Linked DNA regions of Homo sapiens: all the other regions are linked to region 1. The links are contacts of gene promoters, found by promoter capture Hi-C in blood cells and fetal thymus (Javierre and others, 2016). All regions are on one chromosome and are shown on one strand. The core of a region is centred on a gene start or on the middle of the fragment in contact, and the rest is flanking DNA. Distances in the headings are between cores, read along the strand shown.

The links. Contacts are between HindIII fragments. The CHiCAGO score rates a contact against its expected background, and 5 or more counts as called.
Region 2: a contact is called between a fragment that was not itself captured here and the fragment with the promoter of GARIN1A in region 1, in 1 of 17 cell types (endothelial precursors). The highest score is 5.8, in endothelial precursors.
Region 3: a contact is called between a fragment that was not itself captured here and the fragment with the promoter of GARIN1A in region 1, in 1 of 17 cell types (M1 macrophages). The highest score is 5.4, in M1 macrophages.

Annotation. Positions count from the first base shown.
Region 1 is chr7:128,670,847-128,673,624 of GRCh38, forward strand. It overlaps GARIN1A (golgi associated RAB2 interactor 1A), which reads left to right and starts at 1,446. Exons shown (of 5, transcript NM_001128926.4): 1 at 1,446-1,704. The coding sequence starts at 1,552. RefSeq lists a silencer at 2,308-2,367. The HindIII fragment of the contact is 20,881 bases long and covers 960-2,778 here.
Region 2 is chr7:128,860,105-128,862,882 of GRCh38, forward strand. It overlaps FLNC-AS1 (FLNC antisense RNA 1), which reads right to left and starts at 2,522. Exons shown (of 4, transcript NR_149055.1): 1 at 2,421-2,522. ATP6V1F (ATPase H+ transporting V1 subunit F) reads left to right here and starts at 2,752. Exons shown (of 2, transcript NM_004231.4): 1 at 2,752-2,778. RefSeq lists enhancers at 2,366-2,475, 2,556-2,778. The HindIII fragment of the contact is 1,469 bases long and covers 720-2,188 here.
Region 3 is chr7:128,820,137-128,822,914 of GRCh38, forward strand. It overlaps CCDC136 (coiled-coil domain containing 136), which reads left to right. Exons shown (of 18, transcript NM_022742.5): 18 at 1,663-1,994. Among named protein-coding and RNA genes, the nearest start is that of FLNC, 8.9 kb to the right of the region's middle. The HindIII fragment of the contact is 2,105 bases long and covers 307-2,411 here.

The DNA of each region.
Region 1 (2,778 bases), core at 196-2,695:
ATAGCTACAGACACATCTTTAAGTTTAATCTGCATAATTAACATTTTCTCTATCACTTTAGTTTAGACAATCAACAGAACAATAAATCAAACCCTGATTTGTAGCACTTGCTGATTTCAAGCTAGCTAACAAGATGAAGTTCCTGAACACACCCTGGGAAGAGATATGCAGCAGCCCACCACTGTATACTGTTTCTTTTCTTTTCTTTTTTTTGAGACAGAGTCTTGCTTTGTCGCTTAGGCTGGAGTGCAGTGGCACCATCTTGGCTCATCACAACCTCCACCTCCCAGATTCAAGCGATCGCCCTGCCCCAGCCTCCCAAGTAGCTGGACTACAGGTACCCACACCACACCCGGCTAATTTTTGTAGTTTTAGTTGAGACGGGGTTTCACCCGTTGACCAGGCTAGTCTCGAACACCTGACCTCAGGCGATCCACCCACCTCGGCCTCCCAAAGTGCTGGGATTACAGTCATGAGCCACCAAGCCCAGCCAAGTTTATATCATTTAAGTTTTAAAGGCTGGGCTTGGTGGCTCATGACTGTAATCCCAGCACTTTGGGAGGCCGAGGTGGGTGGATCGCCTGAGGTCAGGTGTTCCAGACCAGCCTGACCAACATGGAGAAACCCTGTCTCTACTAAAAATACAAAATTATCCGGGTGTGGTGGTGCATGCCTGTAATCCCAGCTACTCGGGAGGCTGAGGCAGGAGAATTGCTTGAAGATGGGAGGCGGAGGTTGTGGTGAGCCGAGATCACGCCACTGCACTCTAGCCTGGGCAACAAGAGCAAAACTCTGTCTCAAAAAAAAAAAAAAAAAAGTTTTAATAATTGCTGTGTTTAACAACTGGTTTGTAGCATTCCTGAAAATGTAACAACCAGCTCTCGTGACCTGTTTTGGTCTGGCTCCAGCATACAACTGTGCCACTGCCTTCTCCTTTGCCCACTGTTTCCAAATAAATAAGCTTCTCAGTTTAGTTAACAGGTGTCCATTTCTTTAAAAAAAAAAAAAAATCTCCTTTTCTCCCATGAGATGGGGTAGGGAAGATGAACTCCCTTTTTCCTATCCTTAGACTTCCCTGGGCAGGTGAACAAGTCCCATGGAAGTTTGGTGAGGGGCTTCAAGGGGAGCCAAGAGGATTAAAGCCTGTATGTTCCCGAGAGCCTTCCTTGCATCTGGCCAGCTCACTGCTGCCTTGGCATAACTTTGGGAGGGTCATTTTTTCCATGTGGGGTAAGGCTGAATGTTTACAAAGTGGAATAGGCTGCATTACTGCTGGTTTGTAGTTGGTGGAAAGAGGGAGAAAAGAGCCTGGCACATCCTCTGTCCTTCCTCTTCTTTTTTTTTTCCCTTTTCTGTTGTCACCATCACATTCCTTGATGTCATTCCTGCCATTGTGAGCTGACAGGCCCTCCCAGCCCTGGTGGACAGCCCGTAAGTAAATGGGGAGGAAATGCTGGGGAGGTGGGGGCAGATCACATCAACATCCTGGCATTGGGCTGGGTCGGCGTGGAGCCCCAGAAATGTTCCCAAGCCCATTCTTACCAAGAACCAATGAGTAAAATCAGGGGCCTCCCACCTGAGGTCAGGGAACCAGGCCCTGGAGTGGAACTTGGGGTGGAAAATGGCCTTCTTTGTCAACTGATTCATTCTCCAGAATTCAATTTGTTCTCCAACTCGGTGGTGTTTGAAAGCAACTTTATCCAGGTACCCTCGTGGAGCTCAGGGCCAGCTGTCTTTCTGTTTCCAAAACCTGTTCCTAGGGGTTGGTTAGGAGATGCTGTGGCCTTTTAAAGCCCTGGGGGAGGGGGGGGCGGGGGGACAAAGAAGCCACCAAAGCTAGAGAAAACCAGAAGGTCTGGGTCCCAAGTTCACCTCCATTTGTGCCTACCGTATGATAGAGCTACCTGCAGGTCATCTGTTCTAGGGAAATTGATTTATGCTTTACAAATGAGAGATCAGAGCTCAGTCTCCAGGCAGGGTTCACAGGCCCTTTCTGGGCCACTTGTCCAAAGTGGATGGTTACAGGGAATGAAGGTTGCTGTTAGAAACTCTGCTCTGAAATCCATCCTCCTCAGTCTGGGATGGTTTAGAAACAGCCTTGTTTGAAAGCAAAGACACTGGGTAAATAGGTGTTGCCCAGATCCTACCATTCCCTAAAAGGATGGTGGTGACATGACCAATGGAAGTGAGCCTGGGATGGGGCCACTGGGAGTGGAAGGTGGTCGTTTTCGTAAGTATCAAGTCTTAACGCGGGTGCTGCCTGCCTCCCTCTAGCGGTCTAGCCTGAACCCATGCTCCTGCGCAGGAGAGCATAACCAGTTAATCAGCCAGTAAGCACACACTAAACATCTACTGAGTGCAGGGCAGGAGGTGCAGAGAAAAATCAGAGTGTCCCTGGCCAGGAAGCCTATGAGTTTGGTTTACCTGTTATTTGGTAACTGTCTAAGCAAGCTCTATGTCAGAGAGCTTGGGCCAGCTGATGCACCAGGCATGACTGCAGAGAGCAGGTGCTGGGGGCATTCATTCAAGGCATTCTCTCTGGACTTTGGCAGTTGAAGAAGGCTTTCCAGAAGGGTCTTAAGCCATTCTTTGAGAGACTGCTGAGATTTTGGTAAGTGGAAGAGCAGCGGGGAGGATATCCCAGACAGAGGGGCTTCAAAGTACCTAAGGAAAGGCAGGGAGGCTGGAATGCAAGGTCTGCAAGACACAGACCCATTCAAATGGAATGGGAAAGTAGCCAGGGGTTATAGGAGAGAAGGTGGGAACAGTTTGAGGTGG
Region 2 (2,778 bases), core at 204-2,703, 190 kb after region 1:
ATCTTCCTGGCCAACAGGAAGTTTTCCTGGACCCCTCCCTACCCCTCCTGGATCAGTGCCCCCAGCTCCCAAACTGCCCTGGGACACATCTCTAGTTGCAGTTACGACCCTGAGCTGTGGCCATGTATCCACGGCTCCCCACCAGATGGAGCTCCCTGGCCCTGGGTGTGAATGAGTGAGTGAATGGGTATGAATGAATAAATGAGCAGCTGAGTAGCTGCAGCAGGGAAAAGAAGTCTTTCATTCAACTGATCCCACAATCTAGACCCACCTGGGCATTTCAGCACATGGTGGTGGGCTTGGCAGAAAAACCCACGAGTCCCCAACTCCTAATCCCTGACCTCCCCACCTCTCTCACCAGGCTCTGTGCTTCCTCCCTCTTCCCTCACACCCTCCCACACACCCATCCTCACTCTCTGCCCCCCTCACCCTCACCCTCACCCCTAGATGTGCTAATTTCCCCCTCAGCTTCGGCTGCCTCCACCTGTGTGTGGCTGATAAGCTCACAGACCTCCAGCCTGCCTGCTTCCAGCCAGCCACAGTGTGGCCCTGGGTGCTGAGCCTTACAGGCCCTTCCTCATTAATCCTCATAACAGCCCTATGAGGTGGGGCTACTACCATCTGAAGAAACCAAGGCCCTGGGAATTTCAGTGATGAGTCTGAAACCGTACCTTTAAGTAGTGGGGCACAGATTGAAACCCAGGTGTGCCCGAATCCCAAGCTTATCACACATACAATCGCTAGACCAGACCACGGGCACGTCTCAAGCACTCCAAACTCACAAACCCCATGCCAGACACCGGGAGTGCTGATTTGTTAAAAGGGAGGAGGAAAGAGTGGCTCCTTCCCCTTCAGCCTGCTCATCTTACAGAGGTCACTTTCTTGGCAATGTTACTCCCATCCATGTGCTGCACAGGCCAGAAACCTGGAAATCACCCAGGTCTCTCTCTCTACCTCACTCCCCAAACACATCCACTCTGAAACCAGTTTTGTCCTAAATATCTAAATATCTCTCGGCTCTACCTACTTCTCTGCGTTTCCCATTATCACCACCTGAGTCCTGGCCACCATTATCTCTCACAGTGGCCTCCCAATTTGGTTTCTCCTCCCTCAGTTTCGCCTCTGCACACAGCACAGTCAACAGTGAGTGACAGCTCTAAAACGTAAGTTTGGCGATAGCACTCTCTTACTTGAAATCCCTCAGCAGCTTCAGGATAACTGTCCTCAGGATAACTTCCAGATCTTTTTTTTTTTTTTTTTTTTTTTTTAGACAGAGTCTCACTCTGTCACCTAGGCTGGAGTGCAGTGGCGCCATCTCAGCTCACTGCAACCTCCCTTGCCCGGGTTCAAGCAATTGTCCTGCCTCAGCCTCCCGAGTAGCTGGGACTACAGGCACACACCACCTCACTGGGCTAATTTTTTTTGTATTTTTAGTGGAGATGGGATTTCACCATGTTGGCCAGACTGGTCTCAAACTCCTGACTTCAGGTGATCTACCCGCCTCAGCCTCCCAAAGTGCTGGGATTACAGGCGTGAGCCACCGCGCCCAGCCTGCAGATCCTTTTTTTTTTTTTTTAGACAGGGTCTCGCTCTGCTGCTCAGGTTTAAGTGCAGTGCCGTGATCATAGCTCACTGTAACCTTGAACTCCTGAGTAAGCCCTGCTGCCTCAGCTTCTCGAGTACCTGGAACTATAAGTGTGCACCACCACGCCTGGCTAATTTTTTTTTTTTTTTTTTTTTTTTTTTTTTGAGACAGAGTCTCGCTCTGTCACCCAGGCTGGAGTGCAATGGCACAATCTCGGCTCACTGCAACCTCCGCTTCCCGGGTTGAAGCAATTCTCCTGCCTCAGCCTCTCGAGTAGCTGGGACTACAGGCGCCCACAACCACGCCCGGCTAATTTTTTGTGTTTTTAGTAGAGACGGGTTTTCGCCATGTTGGCCAGGCTGGTCTCAAACTCCTGACCTCAGGTGATCCACCTGCCTCAGCCTCCCAAAGTGCTGGGATTACAGGTGTGGCGTGAGCCACCATGCCTGGCCTTACCAATTATTTAACTTTCCTTGAAGGCCCTACGCTCTCTAGTCAGTACGCCTTTGCACATGCTGTTCCTCTGCCTAGAACACCGTCTTGTCCTCACTTCTATCCCCTTCATCCTGCAGGTCCTTCAGGTCTCAGCTTAGATCTGAAGCAAGCTTCTTGGGGAAGGGTTCTTTGGACGCCCCCTCTCTCCATGGGTTAGTTACCATGGATGTGTGCTTCCATATACTTTTCACATTCTAACCATTAACACACAGCTTTGTAGTCGCCTGTTCCCTTGACTTTCCACCTCACTAGGCAGTATCATCATTAACTTTTGCATTCCTTTAACTGAACAAACGTGTGTTACTTGTTAACTATGTGTCATAGTTACACACATACATACACGATAAAGACCCAGACCCTGCCCTTGAGATGAGTAACTGCGTCTCTTCTCTGGGGTCTCGGCGTCTAACAGCGTCAGGTCCAAAGCGCTTGTTGAACGAATGAACCAAGGAACGAGTGAATGAACGAATGAATGCCCGCGAAGGACGTGGTGCCGCGCGGTCTTCTGGGAATCGTAGTCCCCTGGTTCGGGCCTGTCTTTACGGCGCAGGCGTATTCACATGGAGGCCGTGTTGCTGTTAATGCGCATGTCCCGGAATGCGGCTGGGAGGACTGCGCATGCTCGAAGGGTGGGGGTTGAGGCCGACGGGGCGCCGTACGGCGGAGGCGGGGTTTCAGTGGCTTCTGGTGCTCTAGGG
Region 3 (2,778 bases), core at 109-2,608, 150 kb after region 1:
AAGCCCTCCTTCCCTGTCTTCATCTACAGAGGACAGAGTGAGGACAGAGCCTCTAGAGTGTCGTCTCTTGGGGTTCTTTTATTCAGCTCATTGGTCACTTACCTGCCATTCAACAAACTGTACTGTCATCCTACCCTTATTTCTGCATATTATCTGCAAAGATCATAGAAAATTCTGTCAAACAACTCAACGTCCAAAAACATGATTCCGGTGATTTGTCACTTAGGTCACCTAGTTTAAAAGGAGAGTTTGACACGACTTCCCCTTTGGGACACCCACACCAGCCCTTTCCCCATCCCATGTAGAAGCTTGCCTTTGCCCAGTGTGAGGTGCACGGGTCACATTTAAGGATTTCAGCTCCTCCCTCCTTTAAGAACACCAGACTAACATTCTTAGCAATGCACATTAGGATAGAGGCATCTGAGCATATAAATATTTTTTTCTAGCTAGCTCCCTTCTTAGTTTTTGTTTTTGGTTTTAGAGACAGGGTCTCGCTCTGTCACCGAGGCTAGAGTGCAGCGGCATGATCATGGCTCACTGTAACTTTGAACTCCCGGTCTCAAGCGATCCTCCTCCCTCAGCCTCCGGATCTCTTGGTTTTCTTACATGAGTTACTCTGTATATCCACCTGTAACATTGCTTGGCTTTCCATTTCATACCTTCTGTTGTTCTTAGTAGCTATTTCTATAAGCTCAGGAGATTTTCTTTGCTCTTTAGCAGGCTTAAAGTCCTCTTTTTAGATCAATTATCATCTGAGAAAATGTGTTCTTAGCATTAATGGGCTATATTCCATTTTTACTTGAAACCATCCTTCTGTTACCTATGCCATAGCTTATGACTCAAAATCCAAATTCTACCTTTCAGTTAGTAGAGTAAAAAAGTAATAAAAATAAAACCTATTTCCCCAAGTATGTATTTTCTTGTCTAAGATTTTCATATTACCTAATGGATGCTTTTTGGATATCTTCGATGGTGCCACTTGTCCCATGAATCAGCAGGGTTCCCTAGTGGCCGGCAGTGTCTGGAAGCCTCAGCATACTCTAGCACATGCACCAGGAAGTCAGTCAACATACCTGGTGATTAGGAGTGTTCTAATGACCTAGGCCCAGTGACAGGTTTCCTTAAATTTCCTTGAACCAATGTCATTCTCTGTCAAAGTTTGTCTGCCTAAGAACCTCCTACTTACCTGCACTCCGTGGTGCACTTTCTTCATTTCCCCTCAGCCTTATTCCCCCTTCCCCATCCTCTTGACTCTGAGTTCACTTCACTGCAGTGAAACTAATGAGGTGCTGCTGCTTTTCTCAAAGCCCCAGATTTCCCCTCCTCTTTCTTGCCATGGCATCCAGTCCTTTCTCATTGCAACCACTTGGAAGTCTGGCCCCTGAGCCTGCTTCTTCACATGGGAGCTAGTATTCTCAGCCCATGGGGAGAAACGGAGGCCTGAATACAGGCGGTCACCTAAGGTGGTGCGTACAGTGTTGGGCCACATGTCTAGTGGTGCCAGGACTGAGAGATCACTTACCTCCACCGGTTACCCAGGAGGTAACAGAGACTGATCCACAATGTTCCTGAGGTGTCTTGGGCACCCATAGGCAGGTGACTTCTGGCTTAGGGCAGGGTTCAGGAGGCTGGGCACTCACAGTTTCTCTTTGGTCCCCACAGAACATGTTTGGGTTGTGGAAGCCTATGGTATTCTTGGCTATTGCAGCTGTGGCTCTGTATGTGTTACCCAACATGCGACAGCAGGAGTCAGAGTTCTGCCTCATGGAGTGATGGCAGACCTTGGCCAGCGCGAGGGCAGATCCCCAGTGGCCACCACCCTCAGCTTTGGGCAGGACACACTGTGCCAGAACCCTCCCCATATGTTCCATGTGTCCCCATCTCCTCAGCCTCAGTCACCCAGGCTGAAAAGGCTTGTGGGGAGCGGCTGACTTCCATCTCCTGCCTTGTGTAAGAACCTGAGTTCCTTGTAATTAAATATCAACTGAATTACATGAGACTGTGGATTTTTATTTGCTAAATGCCTCACAACACAACCAGAACAGAGCAGTCCCCCTTTAACCAAGTACCTCACATAAGGGTCTGACTCCTAAATGCGGCTTCTCACCTTGCAGATGGCCTCAGAAATGAGGCTAGCCCCTTGTGCTGTCGACTGACTCACAGAGGGGTTAGTCTGTGCTTATTAACCCCATCCTGAGGTGCTCTCCTGAGCATGGAGAAATGGAGTGACTGAGGGCTGGGGAGACCTCCCCTAAGGTTCTGTGCCCACACCTATCTACATGAGAAGGCCGCCCTAAGAAGATCCACGTGTGTGCCTTCGTGACTTAGCCTTTGTGACTTCTCAAGGGATTCGCCCTCAGAGATGACTTTAATCAGCCAGGGTCCTGGCAGTAAACAGGTGGCACACTCAAAGCTTTACATGAAGAGAGTTTAATGAAGAGACTATGTACCAAAGGCAGAGTTAGGAGAAGCAACAAAAAATAGTGAAGTACCAGGCACTAGCAACAGTGTAAAGCTGTTAGCATCCCAGGCTGAAGCAGGAAGGAAAGGAAGCAAGAGCTGGAGCTCTGAAAATGGGCCCCAGGCAGGAGTGGCAGCCACATGGGGTGCAGCCCCCGCCAGAGCCGTGAGGAAGTGGGATATATATTCCCCTACCTTCTCCTCCCACCTGCCAGTATTCTACTGGTACCTTATCAGCTGAACTCAATGGGAAGACAAAGCGCAGAGGTGCCCAGGTGATGTAATCTTTCAAGCTCAGCCTCCTGGAGCTTAGAGCAG